Linked DNA regions of Homo sapiens: region 2 is linked to region 1. The links are contacts of gene promoters, found by promoter capture Hi-C in human tissues and cell types (Jung and others, 2019). All regions are on one chromosome and are shown on one strand. The core of a region is centred on a gene start or on the middle of the fragment in contact, and the rest is flanking DNA. Distances in the headings are between cores, read along the strand shown. Region 1 holds the start of RBM4 (RNA binding motif protein 4). Region 2 holds the start of BBS1 (Bardet-Biedl syndrome 1).

Region 1 (2,700 bases), core at 5-2,504:
TTTAAATCTCCATGGTCTCAGAAAGGTTTCTTCATCGCGGACCCTGGGAGGCTGGTTCCCAGAGGGAACTTGTCCTCAGCGTCTCCTGGACAGTGCAGCCTCCTGCCGGGCCTACTTCTGGAAGGCCATTACAGAGGTCCTTTCACCACCTGTGAGAGGTTTGATTTTGGGGGAGCTCCGGGACTCTCAAGGCTACAGTGTGGACTGCTGGCCCAAGGAGAAGGTTGGTTTCCTGAAGTGGTGGGTGGTGGGTTGGGGGGGGTCTTCGTTGTTTTTCTTCCCTGGCATGTGCCTGCATAAGCTATTTCCACAGCGTCCTGGCCGCGAGGGGGGGTGGTGCTTGGGAGGTTAGAGGGAGACACCTAGAGTGAACGGCAAAATGGAGCGCGGAATACTGTCTGGCTGTGCACGTGGAGGTGGCGAAATGTGGAAGCTTAACGAAGTTGGCGCCATGAAGCTAAAGACTGCTACCCCGGGGCTCTAGCTCGCTCCGCCTAATGGCGGGCCGCACCCCGCCGGCGAAGCCCACGTTTGTAGGTCCGCCCTCACGCTGATCTCTTGCCCAATCAGCGAGTTCGGCTTCGCGAGGTTGGTGCCCATTGGCTTTCGCATAAAAGCTCCGAGGTTACAGACGTTTCCACCTCTTGCCGGCCTCTTAGGTAATTGGCGTCCGTGGTAACCAATCAGGAAGAGGATCTGAGGGAACGCCGGCCTTTTACTTTCTTGAGTGGCCAATCCGGTTGTAGGCTCACCTCCCCCTTCTACTCAGAGCACTGCTGCGGCCGCCGCCATTTTAGCGTTTTGTCAGAAGCGTCCGCGCCGCGAGGAGGAGGCCCTGCTGGTTTCTGTGCGGGTGAGACTCCGAGCCTTTCCACTGCCTTTCTTGTACTGTGTTAAATCTTCTCTCACTCCCTTGGGCTTCGGGGGTGTCCTGGTAGGTCCGCAGTCTCCACACCCGTCACTGAGAGCCGACCTCGGTCCTCGGCATTGCGCGGTAAGCCGGGAGCAGCCCTTCCCCCACCGCCCCCTGAGAATACCTTGCTTTTTTTCGCCCACCCTGTCCCGCGCCCGACATGGCTGCTCTTGGAGCCTCGAGATTTCCACTGGGATAACCCCCTTTCCCTTATATCTGACAGTTACATTCTCGTTTCGGGAATTTCTCGGGCCGTGAGACATCGTCTGGTTAATGAATCTGAAGCTCTTTTCCGCGGCCGCGCATTTCAGTGTTCGGCAGGAGCTAGGACGGTGCCCCGAGAGAGGCGTTCACCACTCCAGTATTTCCTTTATCTCCCACTCCTCGCTGTCTGATCCGAGTCGCGCGTTCATTACTTCCAAAGGAAACTCAAATGTAGCTATTACAAGGCCCATTTTCCCGGAAATGATGGCTGCTTTGGTTCCTACGTGAGGAAAAGCCTGTTGATAATTTCAGGCAGGCAGTCAGCAAGCCTAGTAGACTTTTGTTTTCTGTTGTCCTCCTAGTGGATAGAAAAGCCTAGTACCCCCATTTCTTCATATGCTGTCTTTCATGCCCATTTCTGTTGGAAGGTATCGGTTCTTACCAAACCCTTTGTCTACTAAGGACCTCCCTATTGCAGACGTCTTCTTATTCTTACAGGTTCATGGCGGCTACTATAGCAGGCCTTAGTTCACTCCCACTTCCATTTGATTATTGTGTGGAGGTGTGTGTGCAGGCGTGTGAGAGAGAAAACTGGAAATATACATTAGAGTGAAAGTCGTTGTCTTTTGTGAACGGATGTGGGCCTGAGGTCTTTTGTCAGATGTCTTGTTTTTCTCTCCCAGGCTCTTGTCAGGATGGTGAAGCTGTTCATCGGAAACCTGCCCCGGGAGGCTACAGAGCAGGAGATTCGCTCACTCTTCGAGCAGTATGGGAAGGTGCTGGAATGTGACATCATTAAGAATTACGGCTTTGTGCACATAGAAGACAAGACGGCAGCTGAGGATGCCATACGCAACCTGCACCATTACAAGCTTCATGGGGTGAACATCAACGTGGAAGCCAGCAAGAATAAGAGCAAAACCTCAACAAAGTTGCATGTGGGCAACATCAGTCCCACCTGCACCAATAAGGAGCTTCGAGCCAAGTTTGAGGAGTATGGTCCGGTCATCGAATGTGACATCGTGAAAGATTATGCCTTCGTACACATGGAGCGGGCAGAGGATGCAGTGGAGGCCATCAGGGGCCTTGATAACACAGAGTTTCAAGGTGAACCACCCTCTTTGGGTAGAGGGCTGAACACAAGGCTGTGTGCAGAAAATGGTTGGATAAGTAAAAGGAGAGGTTTGGTAAAGATAACAGCTGTTGGCTGGCTGGTGATGAAGAAATAAGTGTGGGTGATGGACTTCTTATGATGTAGAATGCATGGGACTTAGGGGCTTTACCTTAGGCAAATGTCTCCTGGAGAAAAGCCACTCACCTTTTATTTGGAGCCCCTACGGCTTTTGTGCTTATCAGTGCAGAAACCCTTTTCTTTGAAGGCTTTCTGAGTTACTGGGCCTTTTTTATTTTTTATTTTTTTGTAGTAGAGCACAGTTCAGAGTTCCTCACTCTGAATTTATTGCCCTCAGCACAGGATCAGAATTCTGCATTTTACGTGAAGAACCTCTCAAAAACATGTCAAGCGACACTTATAGGACCAGAATCCTTGTTAAGCTGTCCTACCTTACACAAACTCTTTAAAG
Region 2 (2,700 bases), core at 116-2,615, 130 kb before region 1:
CCCCCAATTCCATCAGACCAAGGCTGCAAGTGGCCCTCCATTCGTGTGTGTATTTAGGGGCTGGGGAGGGGGAGGGGCAGGAGCTTGGACCTTGGTACTACCTCAGCTGAGGGTGGTGACACAACCCCTTCCATTTGTCAGCACTTTCCAGCCTGCCAATTGCTTCCCCTCTGTGATCTCATTTCATCTGCACTGCCATACGTGGAGTGAGCAAGACAGGGCTTACCATCCTGTCTACCAGATGAGGAAATGGCAGTTCTGAGAAGTCACTGGTCTAGATCCCGCAGGTGGCACGTGACAGCTAGGGTTCAAAACGTTCTCACCAAATCCAATGCTCCTCACATATTAATTTTATAACCAGACAAATAAATATTAGAGACAACCACCATCTTTGCGGCGTGTGTGGCTCCTCCTTGCCTTTGCCTGTCTTCTCATTTACTCCCAGCAGAGTGATGGGCTCAAGGCCTGGGGAGGGGGCAAGGAGGGCCATTTTTAGCCTCCCTTCCACAACAGGATGTTGACATTATCTCTAGATGAGGATACGCAGTCACAGAGCTGAACATAGCACAATTTTTGCAGCTCTCCTTTGTGGCATTCCTTGCATTTTTAAATGTTCTGGGGCCGGGCACGGTGGCTCATGCCTGTAATCCCAGCACTTTGGGAGGCCGAGGCGAGGGGATCACGAGGTCAGGAGTTCGAGACCGGCTTGGCCAATATGGTGAAACCTCGTCTCTACTAAAAAATAAAGTAGCTGGGCATGGTGGCATGCGCCTGTAATCCCAGCTACTCGGGAGGCTGAGGCAGGAGAATCCCTGGAACCCGGGAGGCGGAGGTTGCGGTGAGCCGAAATCGCGCTACTGCGCTCCAGCGCAAGCGACAGAGCGAGACTACGTCTCAAAAAAAAAAAAAAAAAAAAAAAGTTCTGGGAACCTACAAACTCAACTTCAGTCAGAATCCTCTGCATTTGTCCCATAACCCTCGTGTTTTGTTTCTCTGGGCCTGGACCTCTACAGTAACGCAGCAAGGCAGGACATGGTCCTTTTCAACCGGGTAACCATGAAGATGGAGACAGGAGGAGTTCTTTTTGCTGCTCATAAATGCTAGAAGGGGCTTCTTTCCAACCCTGGAAGCCAGAGGGCTCTGTGGCTGACCCAGAGATTGTAGGACCCAGACGCCTGGAAAGGTGGCTCTGACTGGGAAGGAGCAAAGATAAATATCTTTGAGGAATCTGAGACAGATTCCTCAACCCAGGAAGGTGGCCAGCGCGTCCTCCTGAGCCTGGGTGGGAAAGCTTGGCGCCCGGAACCTTTGTACTCGCCCTTCCCTGTGCTCGGGCACTATTGGGCGTTACGCGAGGGCGGGGCCGGTTGCCAGGACGACGCCTGCGAAGATGGCCGCTGCGTCCTCATCGGATTCCGACGCCTGCGGAGCTGAGAGGTGAAGGCAGGGCTCCTCAAGGCCTCTTTTCCCACCCGTGTAAAGAGGGTCCCTTGGTCCCCGGGCTCTGGGCTCCTGCTGTTCTCGGGCAGTCTGGAAGGACTCTTAAGAGGTCAGATAGGGAAACCGAGGCCTAAGATGTGCATATGTGTGTCTGGAGGTCGCTCGGTGAGCCAGTGGCGGAGCCTGGACTTGTACCCAGACGTTCTGTACCTTATGTTCAGAGTGACCTGTACCAGCTTCCTCAAAGTTTTTTTTTCCCCTCCCATGGGACTCACTCCCCAACTGTCTTTCCCCCACTTCCAGCAATGAGGCCAATTCGAAGTGGTTGGATGCGCACTACGACCCAATGGCCAATATCCACACCTTTTCTGCCTGCCTAGGTGAGTCTCTGGAACCAGGAACCCTGGGTTCTAGTGGGATGGGGAGTCAGACAATGGTCCTGTAGTGAAGCCTCTGGGATTCTGAGACTCTGGTTTTGGCCCTTTTGTTTTCCAGCGCTGGCAGATTTACATGGGGATGGGGAATACAAGGTAAGCATATCACCCTAGCCAGGAGAGTTGAGGGTAGGGGGGTGTACCCAGAAATGAGATTTCCTGACGGCTGAAAATAGGCCCAGCATACTCTGGAATTCACATATACTGTGAAAAAGCACATTTAGCGTTAAATTTTGTTTTTATATGGAAAGTGAAGAGAACTTATTGATTTCATAATACAGACTGCAGAAAGTAAAGCAGATCAAATATTTCTGGGGATTCTACTAAGACAAAGCCTCTTAGTTAACCTGATTTCTTTGTTGGAAGGGCAAATCCCTTGGTTGGGGGTGGGCACTAGAATCTGGAGGGAAAGTAAAAAGGAGGGAAGTGAACGTTTGATGTTTATCAAAAGATTTTAAGATGGGCCATGAGCTGTCAATTTTTGAAGCTGGATAATGGGATATATGGGGACTCATTATATGAGTCTCTCTACTTTTGTATGTGAATGAAAATTTTCCATAGTAAAAATGTTACATTTTAAATTTAATTTTAAGGCCAGCAATCCCAGCACTTTGGGAGGCTGAGGTGGGTGGATCGCTTGAGCTTAGGCATTCGAGACCAGCCTGTCCAACATGGTGAAACACCATCTCTACTAAAAATACAAAAATTAGCCGGGCATGGTGATGGGCACCTGTAATCCCAGCTACTTGGGAGGCTGAGGCAGGAGAATTGGTCAAACCCAGGAGGCGGAGGTTGAGTGAGCTGAGACCATGCCACTACACTCCAG

What was found. The method cuts DNA at HindIII sites, captures the fragments that hold promoters and counts their contacts. A contact is called where the count stands out against the background at its distance.
Region 2: the fragment with the promoter of BBS1 here is called in contact with a fragment that was not itself captured in region 1 in 2 of the 25 tissues and cell types used here (dorsolateral prefrontal cortex and spleen).

Annotation. Positions count from the first base shown.
Region 1 is chr11:66,637,900-66,640,599 of GRCh38, forward strand. The region is part of intron 1 of RBM14-RBM4 (RBM14-RBM4 readthrough); the gene reads left to right. It overlaps RBM4 (RNA binding motif protein 4), which reads left to right and starts at 804. Exons shown (of 4, transcript NM_002896.4): 1 at 804-853; 2 at 1,801-2,224. The coding sequence starts at 1,813. RefSeq lists enhancers at 255-968, 733-1,102, 969-1,680. The HindIII fragment of the contact is 5,623 bases long and covers 1-2,700 here.
Region 2 is chr11:66,509,270-66,511,969 of GRCh38, forward strand. It overlaps BBS1 (Bardet-Biedl syndrome 1), which reads left to right and starts at 1,366. Exons shown (of 17, transcript NM_024649.5): 1 at 1,366-1,437; 2 at 1,744-1,820; 3 at 1,936-1,970. The coding sequence starts at 1,391. It overlaps DPP3 (dipeptidyl peptidase 3), which reads left to right. Exons shown (of 18, transcript NM_130443.4): 18 at 1-388. RefSeq lists an enhancer at 1,228-1,277. The HindIII fragment of the contact is 12,258 bases long and covers 635-2,700 here.